Linked DNA regions of Homo sapiens: regions 1, 3, 4, 5, 6 and 7 are each linked to region 2. Evidence: promoter capture Hi-C in 16 types of primary human blood cells and fetal thymus (Javierre and others, 2016). All regions are on one chromosome and are shown on one strand. The core of a region is centred on a gene start or on the middle of the fragment in contact, and the rest is flanking DNA. Distances in the headings are between cores, read along the strand shown. Region 1 overlaps LINC00189 (long intergenic non-protein coding RNA 189). Region 2 holds the start of RWDD2B (RWD domain containing 2B). Region 3 overlaps LINC00189 (long intergenic non-protein coding RNA 189). Region 4 has its middle 42 kb from the start of HEMK2. Region 5 has its middle 7.0 kb from the start of LINC00189. Region 6 overlaps LINC00189 (long intergenic non-protein coding RNA 189). Region 7 overlaps LINC00189 (long intergenic non-protein coding RNA 189).

Region 1 (2,838 bases), core at 198-2,697, 210 kb after region 2:
ATCATTTTGGAAATTAAGCTCCCTTGTAAAAAATATCTGAGTTGTTTATTGAGTTACAGGCACTTTCTTATAAAGCTCCAGTTGTTGCTTTTCTCAGAGAACTGGGAAGCCCCTTTCAATTTTGTTGTGTTCTGTGAACAGCTTTCCACCCCGAAGACTGGAAAATCTCTTTTCTAACCATGGGAGAAAAACTGAAGCAGAAACAGCAAGAAATACAGGTATTTTGACAAAAGGATTTTCTCATCCCAGTGCTTTCTTACTGCCTGAAATTCTAGTAGTTAACAATTCTTCAAGAGTCAGATACTTGTCACAGTGTGATATGGTTTGGGTCTGTGTCCCCACCCAAATCTTACCTTGAATTATAATCTGAATTGTAATTCCCACATGTTGAAGGAGGGAGCTAGTGGGAGATGATTGGATTATGGGGGCGGTTTCCACCATGCTGTACTCATGATAGTGAGTGAGTTCTCATGAGATCTGACGGTTTTATAAGTGGCAGTTTCCCCTGCGTGCTCCTCTCTTTCCTGCCACCGTGTAATACATACCTTGCTTCCCCTTCCCCTTCTGCCATGATTGTAAGTTTCCTGAGGCCTTTCCAGCCATGAGGAACTGTGAGTCAATTCAACCTCTTTTGTTTATAAATTACTCAGTCTCAGGTAGTATCTTTGTAGCACTGTGAGAACGGACTAATATACAATGACTCAGAAAGAAAAAGACATCTTTTGACTTTGGAGGGATATATTTTTAGGGTGAGATGATATAAATGGGGATCTCACGGTACCAGGATAGTTGACCTCAGTTGACCAAAGAGCCTAAGCTGAAAAACAAAAATAGTAGCTTATTTTTAAAAATAGCTAATGCTATAGAGGAAAGCAGTAAGTAACTTGGAGAAAAGGCAGAGAAAGCACAAACACGGTCAACATCTGGAGAAGCTTGAACCTCATATGGCAGATCATAATTGTAACACAATTGCTTATTTTATACCCTGAAAATTTTCAGTTCTAAATGAAATCTTGCTGGGTAAGAATATTTTTCAATGACTATTTTAAAGAAAAGCAATTCTGCCAGTTTTGTGGTATATGGTTATTAAAGAGTTAAAGAGCAACAGTTAAGTCATATTGTTAATACTGTGGCATAGAAAATAATCTAATCATGTCCTTTGCCCATTTCTAAATTGGATTAATTTTACTAATATATTTTATTTAACCCAATATATATAAATGTTTCATCATGTAATCAACATAAAATGTTAATGAGATTTTTACCTTTTTATTCATAAAGTCTTCAAAATTCAGGATGTATTTTATATTCGGAATGAAACTCAGTTTAAAGTGGTCACATTTCAAGTGCTCAAAACACAGATGTAGCTGTCATATTGAACAGCACACTGCAGATAGTTCTCATTTCTAGCTGGGTGTTTGGCTTTGCAGAAGTCTGAGGTCCGTATGGTTTTTTTTCTCCTTGTAGGTGATTAGCTTTCTGATACCTGAACAATTATTTTTCATTCTTACAATTCAATAACTTAACAAAGATACATATCAAAGAGGTCCATACTTAATTTTCATGTTCATTCACTGTGCCAATTGAGTTCTCATTTCAGGACTGTTACTTATTTTGTGATATATCTTTGTAATACTTTTCTTATTCCACTGTTGAGTTATTTTTTCTTCTGAGACATCAGTTAACATTTGTTGGGCTCTCTATTTTTGTCCTCCATATCTAGTAGTTTCTTTATGATTCTTTAAGCACCTCATGTTATTTGCATTACTGTAATTATCACAATCTTTTTCTAAATGTAAGTATATTGATTTTGTTTTCTGCTCTTTTGATCTTATTTAACTTGTGTTTTTAGCTTGCTTAATTTTGATGACATTATTTTGGTTCTTATTTCCTGTTTCATACTACAGCATTCTTTATATTCTAATCTTTTTGCTCTCATTTTGTCAAATTCAAGTGGCTATTGTAAGCTTGTCCTATTACTCAAAGCTTTTTTGAAAATGTTCCTTCTTACTGCAGTCGAGTCATATAAATGAATAAACAACAAAAATATACAAGAGAATTTTTTTAAAAAGAAAACTAAAGAAAATGTTCCTTCTGTTTCTTGTTTGCTTTAGTTTTTTTTCCCTTAAGATTAGGTTGTTTATTTGGTATCTAGCTAATGTTGGTCTTGTAAAATAAAGTGGGAAGTGTTTCCTCCTCTTCTAAGGAAGAGCTTATGTGGAATTTGTGCTATTTCTTTTTTAAATGTTTGGTAGAACTGATTGGTGAAATAATTTGTCCAAGAGATACCTTTTTCAGATGTTTAAACTATCAATTCAATTTCTTTAATAGTTTTAGGACTATCCAGGTTATCTATTTCATCTTAGGTAAGCTTTGGTATTTATTGATTTTGGAGAAATTGGTCCATTTTATCTCAGTTGTCAAATGTATGTGTATAGAATTACTTGTAGCCATTATATATTATCTTTTTTTCACATCCATGGGGTTTGTAGTCATATATTCTCTTTCACTCCTGATCTTGCCAAGTCAGTTCCAAATAATAGAAATTTTCAGTTGATAGAATTCCAAGAAAATTAGATTTTATCTCAAAGAATTCCAAGAAAATTAGATTTTATCTCAAAGTAAAACAAAATAAGACCTCTAGATCTTGAAATCGATGTATCTCAAGTTAATATGTTCAAAATGAATTTCATCATCTGTTTTCCAATTCCTTTTCCTGTTACATACCTTTCTTTTTCAAATGTCACTTATCCAAGACAAAAACTGGGGTACTTCACTATCCCCTTTCCCTAATCCCCCAACTGGTGTGTTAGTTTTGAAAGTTTGCCTTTTTAATAT
Region 2 (2,865 bases), core at 296-2,795:
TCTTGGCCAAGAGTGTTCAAGGGAAAGCGAACAGCATATTCAAAGGCCTTGAGGAAGGAGGGTGCTAGAACAGCTGGCCAGAGCACAGTGAGCTGAGGACACGGGGAATAGAAGAGTTTAGTAAGGAAATGTGGGGCAGTTTATGTTGGGACTAGTAAAGCATGGCCAGAATTTTGAATTTTATCCCGACTGACATGTAAGAGCTACAAGAGAGGTTTGACTTATGAAGATCCCCACACTTGCTGCTATGGAGAAAAGTGAAAGGAAAAGTGGGGTGACCAGATATAGACACCGCAATAACTAGGGAGAGATGATGGTGGCTTTGATAGGATTATAGTGGTCAAGTTGGTGAGCTTCAGGTTCTGGATACATGCAGAGAACAGAGGCAACAGGATTTACAGATGAATTACATGAGACACGGAAGAATGACTCCGGGGCTTTAAGGTACTGAAAGTATGGATCTGCCATTTATTTAGACGTTGATGGTCATGGGGAGCTGAAGCTTGGTTTTAGACACAAGTAATGAAGTGCCTACTAAGACACCTGTTAAATAGAGAGGTCTAGCAGGCAGTTAGATGTATAGTTTTGAAGTCTACGAGAGACTCAGCTAGATATATAATCTTGGGAGTCAACACTTATTTGGAACTATATATTTGTTTAAAGTCTCCCAGGGAGTGAGTAAAGTTGGGAGAGGGTGCTATTGAATTGGAGGTATCGAAGATGAAATGGGATTAGCAAAGAAGAACGGGACGGAGGGACTCTTGAACGGACAACTACGGGAGTGATGTCACAGGTCATTTATCTGCCAAATTATTTTCGCTTAAGAGATTTCAGTCCTTCCAAAAAACCCTCAAGATAATTTTATGATTCAAGATTTCAGCGAATGCTGTAAGATAATAGACTGTGGCCGGGCGCGATTGCTCACGCCTGTAATCCCAGCACTTTGGGAGGCAGAGGAAGGGGGACTGCTTGAGCCCAGGAGTTCAAGATCAGCCTGGGTAACATAGTAAGAGCTCGCCTTTATTATTTTTTTAAAAAATAAAATATATTTAAGAGAACGCAGACTGAAACTTGAGATTTCTGAGTGGAATAATATCTTTTCCTTGCAGATTTTTTTTTGAAGAACAGAGCAGGGTACCCCGCGACCCAAGCCAAGACGCTCTCAGGAAGAAAGCCCAGCACGCAGCCGCCCTCGCACCCTGATTGCCCCCGGGGCGAGGTCCCCGGCTGGAGCAGGGCTGCAGAAGCCGGGAAGCAACGCCGAGGACCGAGCCGACCGATGGGCGCATGCAGTGAGGGGAACCGGGGCCGCCATGCCGGGCACGTTCCCAAAGGGTTGCACTGGGCGCTGCAGCGTGGGAAACCCCCGTGGCGGTCACCACTGGCGCTAGCTGAGGCGAGACTCACCTTGAGCCGTGGCCCCCTCACTGCTGTAACCCGGGTTCCATGGCTGCATGGACAGCTCAATTTTCATCAGAAGGGAGCCTCAAAATTCTAGCATACTGCGACCCAAAACTTACAAACCGCCTCAGCTGGCGACCTACCGGAAAAAAAAAAAAAAAGCATGCGGCGCATGCGCGTCCAAGGCCGCGGACCGGAAGCTGGGGCTCGCCTGTTGGGAGCCGCGTCCGCCGGTGTTGGTGTCTGCACTTGGAAGGACGTAGGGAATGCGTTGTCCCTGCTAGGTACTTTTCAGTCGCAGAGTTCTCTTCTTCTTCTTTCTTTCTTCCTTTTTTTTTTTTTTGAGACGGAGTCTCGCTGTGTCTCTCAAGCTGGAGTGCAGTGGCGCGATCTCGGCTCACTGCAGCCTCCGCCTCCTGGGTTCAAGCGATTCTCCTGCCTCAGCCTCCCGAGTAGCTGGGATTACAGGCGCCCACCACCATGCCCAGATAATTTTTGTATTTTTCAGTAGAAATGGGGTTTCACCATGTTGGCCAGGCTGGTCTCGAACTCCTGACCTCAGGTGATCCACCGGCCTCGGCCTCCCACAGTGCTGGGATTACAGGCCTGAGCCACCGTGCCCGGCCGGAGTTTTTCTACTTAATACCTCTCCATGCCAACCCCGTTGTCATTTCCCAGCGGCCGCCTCTATAACGGGCACTTTTCAGGGACAAAGAATTGGTCCGTTAATGTTCCTCAAATTCGAACGCGCCTAGGAATAGTTCGGGGATCCTGTTGAAGTGCAGATCAGGATTCCGTAGGTAGGGGTGGGGTTCCAAATTCTACATTTCTAGTATCTTCCCACACGATGGTGATCCTCCTTGTCCCTGAATCATGGAGGAGGGCAATTAGGGAGATGTGAGCCTGGATGCATGGTGGCCTTGGCTATCTTAGGTGTTCTTGCCCATTAACCAAGCTGGGAGGAACCGTGTGAATGCATATCTATCCCTGTTAATAAAAGGGTAGTTTGAAGGAGATGCTGACAGGAGAATAATTAGAAATGTTTTTCTTCCCAATCCAACTATATGCAATACACTTTATAATATTCATTTTAGAAATGTCATAGATAAGATTTGTAAACATTGACATTTAGCAATACTAAATATCACTGCTAGGTCTCCCCTCCACTTTTTTTTTTTAAACAAAAATACGACAGTATGTATTGTAGGTCTTCATAAACTACGTCTTCTGCATAGTGTTTCATGAGCGTTTTTCAATGTCATAATTTATTTTTTCCTCCAACATTTATTATGAAAAAATTCAAGTGTAAAGCGAAGTCGAGAGAATTTTACAGTGGAGCAGACCTCAAGAGAAGGGGAAGGATGGATTTCCCCTCTATTTAGCAGTGTCTGAAGACATTTTGGGTTGTCACAACTGGAAGGATGGTATTGGCATGGGGTAGGTAGAGCACAGGGATGTTCCTCA
Region 3 (2,951 bases), core at 118-2,617, 250 kb after region 2:
CAGTACATGTGACTATTTAGATAAGGCACTTATTTTTGACACTGTGTTTTATGTTACAAGTATTGTAGTTTCACAACACGCAATAAGGTGGTCCCCTGACCTTGCTATGCCAAGGAATCTGAAATAAGCTTGACCTTGCTTTATAATCCTATTCTTCTCTCCATCTCCTACTTTAAAAGAAGGATTACACTGCATTACAATAAAATGAACTGATATATAAAGAGTACATAGCCAGGTGGTGGCACATAGAAAATGATCAGTGGACATTATCTGCTCTTACTGTTGTTAGTGGAAGAGGTATGTGTCTTTGAAATATGCTGGATGCTTTGCTGAGTCGTTTATAGTGATCACATCTACTCCTCAAAAGAACCATGGGAAATAGGTGACATCATTTCCATTTCTAGATGAAGAAACTGGGCTCAGAGAAGTTCAGAATTTGTCCTAGAGAGTGGGGGGCAGAGCCAGCATTTAAGCCAGACTGGTCCAATTTTGAAGTACTTCCACTCCTCAGTGATGATTTCTGTACTGCCAAAGAAGACCAAGCAGAGGTTAGTATGGTGGGGAGGGGTAGGGTGTGTGCATAGAAAGATGTTCTCCAGTTCTTTCTCCAGTTACCAGGTTGTGGATTGAATAATGTGATTAATATACTGGAATTCATTTTGTATATAGTTACATATATAATATATATTATATATTTATATGTATACATCTTTTCCCAATGAAAGAAAAACATACATTTTACTTAAATTTCCACATCTATTTTTCCTATTATTTCATTATAAATGTGTTCATTAAATATTCTTTGATCACAAGATTTAACACATCACATGTAAACAGCAACAAACCTGTAAACAAGAACTATTTAAGAGGTAAATTTAGGTCGGTGTGGTGGCTCACGCCTGTAATCGCAACACTTTGGGAGGCCAAGGTAGGTGGATCACTTGAGGTCAGGAGTTCGAGACCAGCCTGGCCAACATGGTGAAACCCCATCTGTACTAAAAATTCAAAAATTAGCTGGGTGTGATGGCAGGTGCTGTAATCCCAGCTACTCAGGAGGGTGAGGCAGGGGAATCACTTGAACCCAGGAGGTGGAGGTTGCGGTGAGCTGAGATCACGCCAGCCTGGGTGACAGAGGGAGACTCTGCCTCAAGAGAAAAAAAAAGAGGTAAATGTAATACTTTTTGATTAACATGTGATACGGTTTGACTTTGTCCTCATCCAAATCTCTCCTTGAATTGTAATAATCCCCATGTGTCAAGGCCAGGCCAGGTGAAGATAATTGAATGATGGGGGCGGGGGTTTCCCCCATGCTGTTCTTGTTGTAGGGAATAAATCTCACGAGATCTGATGGTTTTACAAAGGGGAGTTCCCCTGCACATGCCCTCTTGTCTACTGCCACGTAAGATGTGTCTTTGTTCTTCCTCCACCCTTCTGCCATGATTGTGAGGCTTCCCCAGCAATATGGAATTGTGAGTCAATTAAACCTCTTTCCTTTATAAATTACCCAGTCTTAGGTATGTCTTTATTAGCAGCATGAGAACAGACTAATACAACATATTAAAACCTCACTGATGTAAATCCTAGACATTTTGATTTGAAATGAAACTTCCAACTTCAAACCTGACTGCATGTTAGGTTTGCCTGGCAGCTCTGGGACTATGGGGACAACAACCATCACCACCACCCCATGCCTGGGACTCAGCCGCAAAGATGGTGTTTTAACTGATGGGGGAGTTGATACTGTTTGAAACCTCCCCAGGGGATTCTAATGAGTCATCAGGGCTGGGAATCACTGGCCTAAAAAAGTAGAAGCACCTACTTGAATGGGACAATAAATACTTGCTGAAACAGATTAAGTACTCAGTACTTTAAAACCAATGCCCTTGGTCGGGTGTGGTGGCTTGTTTCTGTAATCCCAGCACTTCAGGAAGCTGAGGCAGGTTGATCACTTGAGATCAGGAGTTCGAGACCAGCCTGGCCAACATGGTGGAACCCTGTCTCTACTAAAAATACAAAAATTAGCTGGGCCTGGTGGCGGACACCTGTAGTCCCAACTTCTCAGGAGGCTGAGGCAGGAGAGTCACTTGAACCTGGGAGGCAGAGGTTGCAGTGAGCCAAGATCACACCACTGTGCTCCAGCTGGGGTGACAGAGTGAGACTCTGTCTCAAAAAAAAAAAAATCAATGCTCTCATCTGCACAGCATCCATGAAAGAATTTTCCTTTGGTCTTTAACCTTCCTCAGATGCTATCTCCTTCTCCAGACCTATTTGTCTCTAAAGAGTAGAGGCTGCTCAAAGTTTCTATTTCCTCCACTTCTTAATCCATCTCAAACAACAGTCATGATCTCCATCCTCCTGCAACTGATCTTATCAAGCCTCAATCAGTAATTCATTTACTGTATCTTAATATGTAATTTATAACTAATATATAACATCAATGTATATTGAAGACCTACCTGAAGACTGCAGTGGGTCATAAGAGGGCTATTGAATGCCTGAGTCTCTAGGAATTGATAAGATTATAGAGTTGAACAAAGATTTTAAAATTACCTTGTCCTGTGCTTCTCAAGATAATTTCATTTAGAGTGACACATCCCTTTATTTGGGAAGCTTATTTGAAATGTCAGCAGGTAATAAAAGAGAGGGTGGGGCTACTTTGTGTGGTATTGATGGTGGGGACAGAGCCCTGATTGCTGGGTTCTGTCCACCTTTCTGTCCACTGTTCCCTCAGAGATAGCCCTTAGAGATCTCCACAGACCCTCTGCATCTCTGCAAAGGACAGTTTGGAAACTACCCATCTAGTCTTGATCCCTTTCAGATACAACACAGGATATGTCTGCCACCTTAAGAAGCTTCTAGGTTTTCTTTCTGTTTCTTTTTTTCTTTTTTGAGATGGAGTCTCACTCTGTTGCCCAGGCAGTCTCCCAAGTAGCTGAGACTACAGGCGCCGC
Region 4 (2,702 bases), core at 48-2,547, 180 kb before region 2:
AACTTACTCATGTAACCAAATACCACCTGTACCCCAATAATTTATGGAAAAATAAAAAATAAAAACAAAAACCCTTAGACTCCTAGGCTAGGAGAGCCCTGCTGAAAGACAACATTTCACACTTGTCTCAACTAATTGCTGGAGGAATTAGGCACATTCTGTGCAACTCCACTGGGAGAGACTCTTGGAAGCTTGAGGCTGCTTTCCTTTGGATTTAGTCACATGTGCCTATTCCCTTTGCTGATTTTGCTGTATATCTTTTCACTACGATAAACTGTAACTGTAACTATTACAACTTTTGAGTTCTATGAGTCCTTCTAGAAAGTCACTGAACCTGGGGTGGTCTTAGGGATAGATGCCTGACACACTATCCCAAAGGATAATTGTGAAGATTAAACAGCAACATGCATATCAAGCACTTGACATAATGGCTAGCCTAAAGTGTTCCATGGGTGTTATTGGCATCATTATTATATATTACATTATTTATTCATATAAAATTATATCTTATTATATCACATGTATAACTACATAACTCAGTTTTCTATACACTATTAATAAAAGATTGAGATAATTCTTTCTTGTCTTATTTTTCCTTAAACATTTACCTCTCTCACCCTTTGTTGATTTAGCTGTATTTCTACTGAACACATGAACTAATATCCTAACTTCTCAGACTATCAACAGATGCCATGAAATAATTGGATGCTTGTTAGCAACTGGCCTGATAGTATTTGATTGTGCTTTCTACTGTTCCTTCCTGATGACTCGTAGAGGGTAGACCCAGACGATACCTGGAAATTATTTGCTCATGTGGCAGTCACTGTTGATTGCCTACCCAAAGCCATTACTCCTTCTCCCCACCTAACAGAAGCCGAGTTTTGTTCAGCAACAACGTGCCCAGTCACAGAGGATAAATCTTGGCTAGTCTAAGCTAGTGCTAGTAGTCGCATTTCCTTTTGCCAATGATTTATTTCAGGTGATCATGGGACCTCGTTATGAATGATGAGACAAAGGTAGAATATCCCAGTAAGCAACTGGGAAGATTTCCTCCTCTGATTGTATACAGAGAATCAGGTAGATATTAGTTAGGAGGGTCCCTTTGCCTAACTTTGGAGATGGATATGTAAAAACCTGCTGCTAAGTGTGCAGTTGTTATCCCAAGTCTACAATGGGAGATAGCATCAAATTACTGGAGATGGAAGAATGGGAAGATAGACAGTTTGGTCTTGATAAAATTGTTGAACTGTAACTTTGTAACTACTTATATTTAGACTTCCTTTAAATAAGAAAAGTAAATGTTCATTTTGTCTAGTCACTATTGGCTGAGTCTTCTCTTACATGAGACTAATAGTATCCTCATGAACTTGAAACACATGTGGTTTCAACACGCGTTTTGTAAAGACAAATTATGCACAGCCCTGTATTAGTCCATTTTCACACTGCTATAAAGATAGTACCTGAGACTAGGCAATTTGTAAAGGAAAAAGGTTTACTTGACTCACAGTTCTGCATGGCTGAGGAGGCCTGAGGAAACTTACAATCATGGCAAAGGCGAAGGGGAAGAAAGGCAATCATGAGAACTCACTTGCTATCCTAGAACAGCATGGGGGAAACAACCCCCATGATCCAATTACCTCCCACGAGGTCCCTCCCTTGACATGTGGTGATTACAATTTGGATTACAATCCAAAACCATATTAAGTCCTTATCCGGGAATTCTGAAAAGGTAGCACATGTGCAATTCAAACTTAATGATCTTCTTCCAAAAAAGACATACTCAGTAATAACAAACTTCAATCAGAACCCAATTATTTTTGCAAAGAAAGGTAGGAAGATAGAACCAGAAAATTCTTTAGTCTTTTAAAGCATGTCATGGTCTCCTTTCAGCTTAAAGACCTTCTTGATTAAACATGAAATTTTCTGTGCAGATAAGCCAGTTCTGTGGATGTGAAGTCTGAGGAGTATATTTTATGTTTATAATGTGGATATTACTATTCATGGTTGGGAAATGAGAAATGAACAGTATTTTACATGCCATTATCCTTTGCCAATTTCTCTGAAGGGCATCCAGCTTCACATAGTAGTAAAATGTGTAATTCAGGACTGGGAAGCCGTATAATATGAAATTAGTGTTTTTAAGAAATTTTAAGGGAATCTGAATTTTAAAATGCTCAAAAATAAAACATATATTTATATGCACTATTAGAGCACATTATAAGTGTGACTGTTTTTAAGTCAAAGTTTTAATAATCTATTGCTTATTTAGGGATTATATAATACCTACTTCCAATATGTGAAGCAATAAGAGAAATGACAAAGGAATTATATATATATACACATTTAAACGTAATACATATACACAAATTTCAAGCATATATATCCTCCATAGTGGTCAATTTGGTAAGCTTTAATTGTTTGAATTTCTCATTAGGAATTTTATTAACAGTCAATACCATCTGATTTTAAATATCCTCAACAGTGGCTGATGGTCATTCTTTCAAAGCAGAGAAGCTATCCATCTGCTTTTTTCTCCACTCTTCATATTAGCCTAATTCCATACTTCTCTCCCTGACCATGCAATCCTATACAGAAATGTGATGTAAGTCTACATATATAAGTATTATTGTTTATTCTACAAAAAGGGATCCTACAATTTCTATATCTTGTCTCCTCAAACTTTTGTGTGGAATACCTTGTGG
Region 5 (2,902 bases), core at 160-2,659, 170 kb after region 2:
AATTTTACTATTACCTCAATCTTGCTTTAAGACTAAATTTATATTTATAAAGATGTTTTAAAGCTCTCTATAAATGTTTGCAAAGTAATAGCATTGTATTTAATAAGCTATTAAATTGTTCACTTGATACTGGTTTTGCTAAGCTTAATATGAAGAATCAATTAAAACTAAATTATCATCTAAGCAGGGACAATCCTAGATTATTCAGAGAGAAAAATGAGGATAAAAACATTAGCTCTGTCTGCTTCTCAAGGTTATTTTTGGAAAGAAATGAAGTAATGTTGTGAAAGGCTGTGCAAATATTACTGCAAGGATACAAATTACCCTCCCTGTAGAGTGGATGGGATTTTCACAATTTTCTCCCTTTCTGGTCATAGGTATTTTATCTAATTTGTTGTCCAGTCTGTAATTCTACCCTGTTGTGTGCAGTGGGAGTGAAAGGGAGGTACATGAATTAGGATTAGAATTGCTTGTGAAGGACAGAAACCTGCCAAATAACGGTGCCTTAAACAAGGTGGAAGTTTCCTTTTCTCTCATGCAAAAGACTGGGATGTGTAGTCCTGGGCTGAAATAGAGGCTCTTCTCCATCAAATCTCCAAGGCTTCAAACTTCTTTGCCATTATTGAGCAATGTTTCTCAATCTCATGGTCCAAGATGGCGGTATATATATTCCAGGCAACCAGAGAAGGAAGGAACAAAGAAGTGGCTGAGGCAGTGGGGTGGCTGGCTGTCCTGGAAGCTGGCACAAGATGCTTTCAGTTACATGCTTGAAATGGTTAATTTTATGTATCAAGTTGACTGGGCCACAGGATGCCCAGATATTTGGTCAACCAGTATTCTGCATATGTCTGTGAGAGTATTTTTGGATGCGGATAACGATTGAATCGGCAGACTGAAAAAAGCATATTTTCCATCCTAATGTGGGTGGGCCTCATCCAATCTACTAAAGACCTGAAGAGAACAAAAGGTTGACCCTCCTACAAGTAAGAGAGAACTCCTCCTGCCTGACTGCCTTGACCCTGAGACATGGGCTCTTTTTTGCCTTCAGTCTCAAACTAAAATATTGGTCTCTTCCTGGATCTTGAGCCTGCCAGCCTTTGGATTGGAACTACACCATGGCTCTTCTGGGCCTCCTGCTTGCTGGCTGCAGATTTTGGTACCTGTCAGCCTTCATAATCTCATGAGTCAATTCCTTATTGTATATTGATATCTATCTATCTATCTATCTATCTATCTATCTATCTATCTATCATTGATAACCTCTCTATCTATTGGTTCTGTTTCTCTGGACAATGCTGACTAATACAATCCTATTGTCTGGAACTTAGTATGCAAGAAAGAGAGTGAGTATATGGGGTGAAATGTATAGGAGTGGAGCTAAAAGACTTTGCTGCAGGAGAGGAGTTCAAGTCATTGAGGGCAGTTATGAGTCAGCAATAATGTTGGTGCAGTATTTTATTTCAGGAGTCAATTAAAAGTATTGTCATTTTAGCAGTTTATGTCTTCCATTTATCAAATTGAGTATAGTGCCTTCCTCTGTCCTACCAGATGAAAGTTTATGAAAGATACTAATCATTTCCAAATTCCTTCATTTTTACTATCTATCCAGATTATTTTAAATACAGTATCTCTATAAATAGCACTTTGTCCATTGATATATGTTTGTGTTTACATGATTGTGTGTGTGTGTGTGTGTGTGTGCACGTGCAAAACATGGAAATAGGATATTTGGTCTACCTTAATCCCTGGAATGGAAGTAATGGTGATTACTTTTGTATAGCAAGTAATAAACTCCCAAATGGTTGGCATTTCCTTTTTCTTATACTAGACAGAGTCAAAGGTGAAGGATGATAAAGAAAAGTTTTGACAATAGTGCCAAATTACCTTCCTCAGTTCCTAGATTGGGGATTTTCAATCTAGGGGCAGATGTCACTATAATATAAGAGGTCTAGTCCTTGATTTCAGAAGCAGCTATCCAAGCTCTTATAAGAACTGATGATAGGAACTTGTCTCTCTTCTCAAGTTCTGTACAACAACCACTTATCCATAGCTCTTGATGGTTACTGCTCAGCCATTTCTTGCCAGCTGTTCTTTCCATGTGCAGGGAGAGCATGGGAGTATGGAGCCTCAGTTTGGTTTGCTATTGTCAGGACATCAAACTAATCATTAGGTAGAAAGTTGAATAAACATTTACTTTTGACTTTTAAATGGTTACTTCAGAAAGTTTTACTTAGCGGCAAGACCAACTACATAATTTGCGGGGCCCAGTGCAGTGTGAAAATTTGGGGTCCATTTTTGCAAAAAATATTAAGAATCTCAAGATAGTGACAGAGCTTTAAGGCCAATTCAGGCTCCTCCTGCGTGCAGGACTCTGTGTAACTACACAGGTAGCACAGCTAGGATGCAGACGCTGCTCAATGTTATACATTTAGTACTTTGATGTCCCTGAATTCCTTACAAAACTCTTACTTCCTCCCCTCCCCACCCAAGTCCCCAGCTCTTCTGTTTTTTTCCAAAACTTTACTTGTGTACAACACTATGAAACATGACAGGGTCTGATGAGAAAGTATTAATTGGCTTTAACCTAGTTTTTTTTCATTTTTATTTCTGAATATCAGCACTCATAGCCCTTTTCCCTATTTTCTGACTTACCCTAATACAACTCCATATCGTACAAAGCTTCATAGTCCTGTATATGCATGTGGTGAACATTTGTGTGGCTATTTGCAGCTGATGGATTAGTATCCATAAGTTGAGAGGATTCTTCAAAGGTCCTGAGATTGAATATGAAAAAATGACCTGTAAGAATTAAGTCATCCACATGTAGCACAGATGGACGAATTACCAAGGGAGATGGCATATATCTGGATCACAAAAGACTTATAAGGCAAATTAAAGGCAT
Region 6 (2,902 bases), core at 24-2,523, 220 kb after region 2:
TGCTGTGTAGGCCTTTCACAGTCAGGTTGCCTGGATTTTCTGCCCATGCATCTGACAGTAGCTCTTCTCCCAGCCATAGGTTACTTGTTTTCAAAACAAACACAGGCTTTTCTTTATAAGTTTTTTTCTGGTGCTCACCTCTCTCATCCCCTATACCTCTCTTCAACCTAGGCTCTTCCAAAAAGTACATCAAGCAGGTGAAGTTTACACCTCTAACTTCAGAGAAGTGGTTATTGGTACCATAAAAACCCAAAGCATGGCCAGGAACAGTGGCTCACACCTGTAATCCCAGCAATTTGGGAGGTTGAGGTGGGCAGGTCACCTGAGGTCAGGAGTTCGACACTAGCCTGGCAAACATGGTGAAACCCCGTCTCTACTAAAAATGCAAAAATTAGCTGGGCATGGTGGCGGGTGCCTGTAATCTCAGCTACTCGGGAGGCTGAGGCAGGAGAATCACTTAAACCCAGGAGGCAGAGGTTGCAGTGAGCTGAGATGGTGCCATTGCACTCCAGCCTGGGCAACAAGAGCGAAGCTCCATTTCAAAAAACAGACAAAAAACCCAAAGCTTGGCTGGTCTGCCTCATCTTATTTCCCAATATTTTCCACTTAGTTTCCCTATGAATCTCTTAGATCCTTTAGTGTCTTACTTCTACCCCACCAACAAAAGGAGTAGTGTGTATGAATTAGGATTTTACAATATAAATATACATTTACAGTAACATACTTATAATGAGGATGTTTTTCTCTAAAAAGAACTATGCTAACATACTTTATATAATTGCAATGAATTTGTTTTTCACTGTTTATAACTTCTTAAAAAATATACTGGGCATGAGAAGACCTATCCAAAAGCAGGAAAATCTTATTTTAAGTGCTGCAATTGTGTCAGTTATGTCATGAAATCATAAATGGTGGCTATCTGTCAAAATGTGCTATGTTTCCTTAGACATAAGGAAGACAATGAATTTTCAAGATAACTCACTGATGTGTCTTTGTTAAGCTGACATATTTGGAAGAATTCCCAAATAATTTTCATGGTCAGAGAGATTCTCATTTTGCAAGCTACCCCTAAGCAAGAGGCACTGGGGACTTTGCCCAACCAGTAATATTCAGATGAGTTGCAGATTGTTTAAGTAGCTAAATCATGTTAATCCTCTTTCCATGTATGGCAGCATTTATTTAAAATTATTTATTGAATGCATTCTATGTGCCAGGCCCATTTCCAAGTACTGGATATTCCTGGTGAACAAATCCTACACATATTACTACCTTTAGGGAGCTTACACTCTGGCATTAGGCATCAAAACAACACATTCTGGCAAATGAGGCTGGTAACTTTTAAGGATTAAATAGCTTAGAGTTATCAGAGTGTTGACCAGGCATGGTGGCTCATGCCTGTAATCCCAACACTTTGGGAGGCTGAAGTGGGCAGATCAATGGAGGTCTGGAATTTGATACAAGCCTGGCCAACATGGTGAAACCCGGTCTCTATTAAAAATACAAATATTAGCTGGGCGTGGTAGCAGGCACCTGTAATCCCAGCTACTTGGGAGGTTAAGGCAGGAGAATGGCTTGAACCCGGGAGGCAGAGGTTGCAGTGAACTGAGATCTAGCCATTGCTCTCCAGCCTGGGCAATAAGAGTGAAACTCTGTTTCAAAAAAAAAAATTATCAGAGAGTAGATTTATGTATTAAGCATCTTTCAAAAGGCCTTACACAGTTACAGTTTACATTATTAATGTACTACATTTCTTGGCAAATAATTTATTGCTGTTGGTCTTCCAGTCCCCATTCTATAAGATACATATGCAAAGTCAGGAAACAAAGTAAACTTTTCTTAAAACAGTATGTTAGTTATCTTCAAATAATATGCTTTCAGTTGAAGTGGATTTGCTCTAGATTTAAAATAATGGGCCTAATTGCTGATCTAGAAAAAAGTAACTTATAAAACATATTGAGCATCCAAAAATTCTGGCAGCATAGGAAGCTTACTATATTCATTATACTTTTGAAGGGGAATGGAAGTTAAAGAAATGCAGATTATGTTGTTTGAAAATTATCTGAGTCCATTTGTGTTGCTATAAAGGAATATCTGTGACTGGGTAATTTATAAAGAAAAGAGGTTTATTTGGCGCACACTTCTGTAGCCCATACAAGAAGCATGGCACCAACATCTGCATCTGGTGAGGGTCTCAGGCTGCTTTCACTCATGGTGGAAGGTGAAGGGAAGTCAGTGTGTGCAGAAATCATTCAGCAAGAGAAGAAGCAAGAGAGGCAGGAGGTGCCAGGCTCTTTTTAACAATCAGCTCTCACAGGAACTGATAGAGCAAGAACTCACTCATTACCATAAGGATAGCACCAAGCCATTCATGAGAAATTCACCCCTATGGCCTAAACACGTCCCCTTAGGCCTCATCTCCAACACTGGGGATCAAAGCTCAATGTGAGGTTTGGGGAGACAAACACCCAAACCATAGCAAACATATAAGTGACATACTGTTAAAAGATGGATTTATCCTATGTTTCTTTTTCTTTTTTCTTTCTTTTTTTTTTTGAGAAGGAGCCTTACTCTGTTGCCCAGTCTGGAGTGCAGTGGCATGATCTTAGCTCACTGCAACCTCCACCTCCCGGGTTCAAGCAATTCTTCTGCTTCAGCCTCCTGAGTAGCTGAGATTACAGGCGGGCACCACGATGCAGAACTAATTTTTGTATTTTTAGTAGAGATGGGGTTCCACCATGTTGGCCAGGCTGTTCACCCCAGTAACTCTCCCCTTAAACAATTGGCAGTTGTAGGAAGGAGCAAAAGATGCACAACTGTGCAGAGAACAAGGGTAGTATCCCATTACTTGTTATTTAGGATTCCGTGGCATGTACTTATTCTTGAATAATTTACTCAAAAAAAA
Region 7 (2,845 bases), core at 265-2,764, 190 kb after region 2:
GGCTGTTGGTTTTCAATGTTACCATGGCATTGGGGTGGGGGAGAGGGATTAGGTCAAGTTAAAATGCCACAAAATAGCTCACTGGTCTTACCAAGATTCAGCCATTTTTTCCTGACTAAACAGTCCTTGACATTTTGCAATCTTTTAGTTAATTTCCAGAGTTCTGAAAAAGTTAATTTTGACAATTTTTGCCACTGATCTCATTGCTTTTATGGATGAGCAGATTTTTGATGGTCTTTATTCTACCATTCAAGAAGTACTGTCTTTTTTAGCATGTTAAAAGGTAAGTTTTTTTAAAAAACATAAACCATGACACAAAAATTATAAAAATAGTAAATGAACACACGCCAAAGACTTTATTTAACTCTGTATTTATTGTGGAGCATATTAAGATACTATACATTCAAAAGAGAATTAAATACACATACACACAGAGGGAATTGAGAATGCTGAAATCATTTTACAGGCATATTGGGTTAATACCTACAGCCCAATAATCAATTGTATTTCACAGGGCCCAATTCACTTTCATTTCTTCAGGCAAGCATCATTTGTGTTATTAGTTTTTGACAATATTGAGAGTAGTGAAGCAGCTGAAAGGGAGTACAAGGCAAAGATACACTAGAAGGATAGACAGACAGAGTCCTGGTAATCTTTTTTCCCCACAATAAAGTTTTTGTAGTTTTTCCTGATAAGGGAATGGAGAAGAGAGTGTAGGGAAAAGCAGTATAACATTTTGAGACCCTGGACATGTGACTAAAACAGTGGAAAAGGACAGAGCAGAGTGCAGGGGTGTTCAAGGTAGCTGTTGCTGGCCTCGCCTTCAGTGATAAATTCTTCTCTATGCCCCGCTTCCTCATCTGTAAGGTAAAGATATGGATCAGCTGATTGCTAAGGCTCATCCCATTCCAGCTGTATTCAAATGTGGCCCCCAGAACTGCAGCATCAGTATCACCTGAGAACTTGTTAGAAATGCAGATCCTTAGGCCCCATCCCAGTTTTACTGAATTGGAAACTCCAGTGTAGATCTCAGCAAGCTCTCTAGGTGATTTTGATGCAGCTGAATTTTGAGAACCATTGTATATCAATTTTCTATGAGATGGAAATTTGATATTGATATGATATAGTTTGGCTGTGTTCCCATTCAAATCTCACCTTGAATTGTAATAACCCCTGCCGGGTGCCAGGTGGAGATAATTGAATCATAGGGTCAGTTTCCCTCCTACTGTACTTGTGGTAGTGAATAAGTCTCACGAGATCTGATGGTTTTATAAATGGGAGTTCCCCTGCACACAGTGTCTTGCCTGTCGCCGTGTAAGATGTGACTTTGCTCTTCACAGGCCTTCCACCATGATTGTGAGGCCTTCCTAGCCATGTGGAACTGTGAGTCAATTAAGCCTCTTTCCTTTATAAATTACCCAGTGTCATGTACATCTTTATTAGCAGCGTGAGAATAGACTAATACAGATATCAAGGAAACTCCATTAGCTATCATGACAGCATATTTAGAATTTTCTCCTAAACTTTGAAAGCATCAATTATTTCTGTGTGTAAAAGGAAAAAGTCAGTTTGGTTAAAGCTCTTTTTATTTTTTATATAAAAAAAGGAGTTCGGCCGGGCACGGTGGCTCACGCCTGTAATCCCAGCACTTTGGGAGGCCGAGGTGGGTGGATCATGAGGTCAGGAGATTGAGACCATCCTGGCTAACACGGTGAAACCCCGCCTCTACTAAAAATACAAAAAGTTAGCCGGGCGTGGTGGCGGGCGCCTGTAGTCCCAGCTACTCCGGAGGCTGAGGCAGGAGAATGGTGTGAACCCGGGTGGCGGAGCTTGCAGTGAGCCGAGATCGCACCACTTGCACTCCAGCCTGGGTGAAAGAGTGAGACTCCGTCTCGAAAAAAAAAAAAGAAAAAAAAGAATAAAAAGAGTTCATTTCTTCTTACTCAGAATTCATTATAGAGAGTAGCTTATCATTGCTCTATGTCCATTTGTTGTAGGCAAAACCTCAATTCACAATTTATTTTAACATAACCAGTCCAAAGAAAGGTCAGAGAGGTATTTTTTGTAGCTTTGAGTTTCATATATTTTATATAGTTAGAAACTTCTCTCCTAGTTATCATAGTGGGGAAGGGTGAGGTCAGACTTCCGAAGTCTTGTGCTGGAAAGTTTTTGGTCTTTCTCTTCACTCACAAAGGCAGTGATTACAGGACACTATGGGCTGTGCTTGGAAAACTTTTGTATAAACCTCAGTCCTTGGGTTGGGCACTTCTCTGCTTACTTATGATGAGCTATTCTGTTTGTTTGGTACACAGTAGACTGGTCCTGTTTGCCACTATCATTTCCTTACGGTTTACAGCTATGGTGCACCATTTAAAATGATGGTTTTCAGTATCCTAATTGTATGATGTGTCCTTTGTACATTCTCAGCATGATGCTCTTTCCAGCGTTTTCTACAGTAGCTGTTCTCTGCTCAACCCCATCTAATCAACTCGTGCAAAGGTGATCATTGTTTCTAAGTGGATGCCCTGGCCAGCTTTGAAAACTCTCTTAGCAATGACTTATATTTAAGCATAGGTCACTGATTACATTGGTCAAAGTAATATCTATGAAGTTAAGAACAATGAGACCTCAGAACTAGTAGTCAAAACCTCACTGTTCACAATGTAGGGAAGTTTCTCCAGCAGGTGTTAATAGGTTTACTACAAAGAAAGCATTGTGTCTGTGGTCAAATCTCTCAAAGACTTCTGATGTACATTCGTATCGAACACTCTGAGAGTCTTATAGTAAAGAAACATCTAACTGTGTGTAACTCACGTTTTCAAACTTATTTGAGCATGAAACATTT

Evidence for each region. The method cuts DNA at HindIII sites, captures the fragments that hold promoters and counts their contacts. A CHiCAGO score of 5 or more calls a contact.
Region 1: a contact is called between a fragment that was not itself captured here and the fragment with the promoter of RWDD2B in region 2, in 1 of 17 cell types (naive B cells). The highest score is 5.5, in naive B cells.
Region 3: a contact is called between a fragment that was not itself captured here and the fragment with the promoter of RWDD2B in region 2, in 3 of 17 cell types (naive B cells, neutrophils and activated CD4 T cells). The highest score is 9.4, in naive B cells.
Region 4: a contact is called between a fragment that was not itself captured here and the fragment with the promoter of RWDD2B in region 2, in 1 of 17 cell types (non-activated CD4 T cells). The highest score is 6.3, in non-activated CD4 T cells.
Region 5: a contact is called between a fragment that was not itself captured here and the fragment with the promoter of RWDD2B in region 2, in 1 of 17 cell types (neutrophils). The highest score is 5.8, in neutrophils.
Region 6: a contact is called between a fragment that was not itself captured here and the fragment with the promoter of RWDD2B in region 2, in 1 of 17 cell types (naive B cells). The highest score is 5.4, in naive B cells.
Region 7: a contact is called between a fragment that was not itself captured here and the fragment with the promoter of RWDD2B in region 2, in 1 of 17 cell types (neutrophils). The highest score is 5.5, in neutrophils.

The regions. Positions count from the first base shown.
Region 1 is chr21:29,223,564-29,226,401 of GRCh38, forward strand. All of the region lies in intron 1 of LINC00189 (long intergenic non-protein coding RNA 189), which reads left to right. Among named protein-coding and RNA genes, the nearest start is that of LINC00189, 31 kb to the left of the region's middle. The HindIII fragment of the contact is 1,035 bases long and covers 931-1,965 here.
Region 2 is chr21:29,017,804-29,020,668 of GRCh38, forward strand. It overlaps RWDD2B (RWD domain containing 2B), which reads right to left and starts at 1,546. Exons shown (of 5, transcript NM_016940.3): 1 at 1,408-1,546. The coding sequence starts at 1,474. LOC124905005 (a long non-coding RNA gene) reads left to right here. Exons shown (of 2, transcript XR_007067836.1): 1 at 1-444; 2 at 1,110-2,865. RefSeq lists an enhancer at 1,387-1,636. The HindIII fragment of the contact is 4,408 bases long and covers 501-2,865 here.
Region 3 is chr21:29,264,546-29,267,496 of GRCh38, forward strand. All of the region lies in intron 1 of LINC00189 (long intergenic non-protein coding RNA 189), which reads left to right. Among named protein-coding and RNA genes, the nearest start is that of BACH1, 33 kb to the right of the region's middle. The HindIII fragment of the contact is 2,482 bases long and covers 127-2,608 here.
Region 4 is chr21:28,841,762-28,844,463 of GRCh38, forward strand. It overlaps a transcript of HEMK2 not described here. Among named protein-coding and RNA genes, the nearest start is that of HEMK2, 42 kb to the right of the region's middle. The HindIII fragment of the contact is 2,217 bases long and covers 190-2,406 here.
Region 5 is chr21:29,185,021-29,187,922 of GRCh38, forward strand. No RefSeq gene overlaps it. Among named protein-coding and RNA genes, the nearest start is that of LINC00189, 7.0 kb to the right of the region's middle. The HindIII fragment of the contact is 2,536 bases long and covers 142-2,677 here.
Region 6 is chr21:29,241,256-29,244,157 of GRCh38, forward strand. All of the region lies in intron 1 of LINC00189 (long intergenic non-protein coding RNA 189), which reads left to right. Among named protein-coding and RNA genes, the nearest start is that of LINC00189, 49 kb to the left of the region's middle. The HindIII fragment of the contact is 1,421 bases long and covers 564-1,984 here.
Region 7 is chr21:29,203,911-29,206,755 of GRCh38, forward strand. The region is part of intron 1 of LINC00189 (long intergenic non-protein coding RNA 189); the gene reads left to right. Among named protein-coding and RNA genes, the nearest start is that of LINC00189, 12 kb to the left of the region's middle. The HindIII fragment of the contact is 5,970 bases long and covers 1-2,845 here.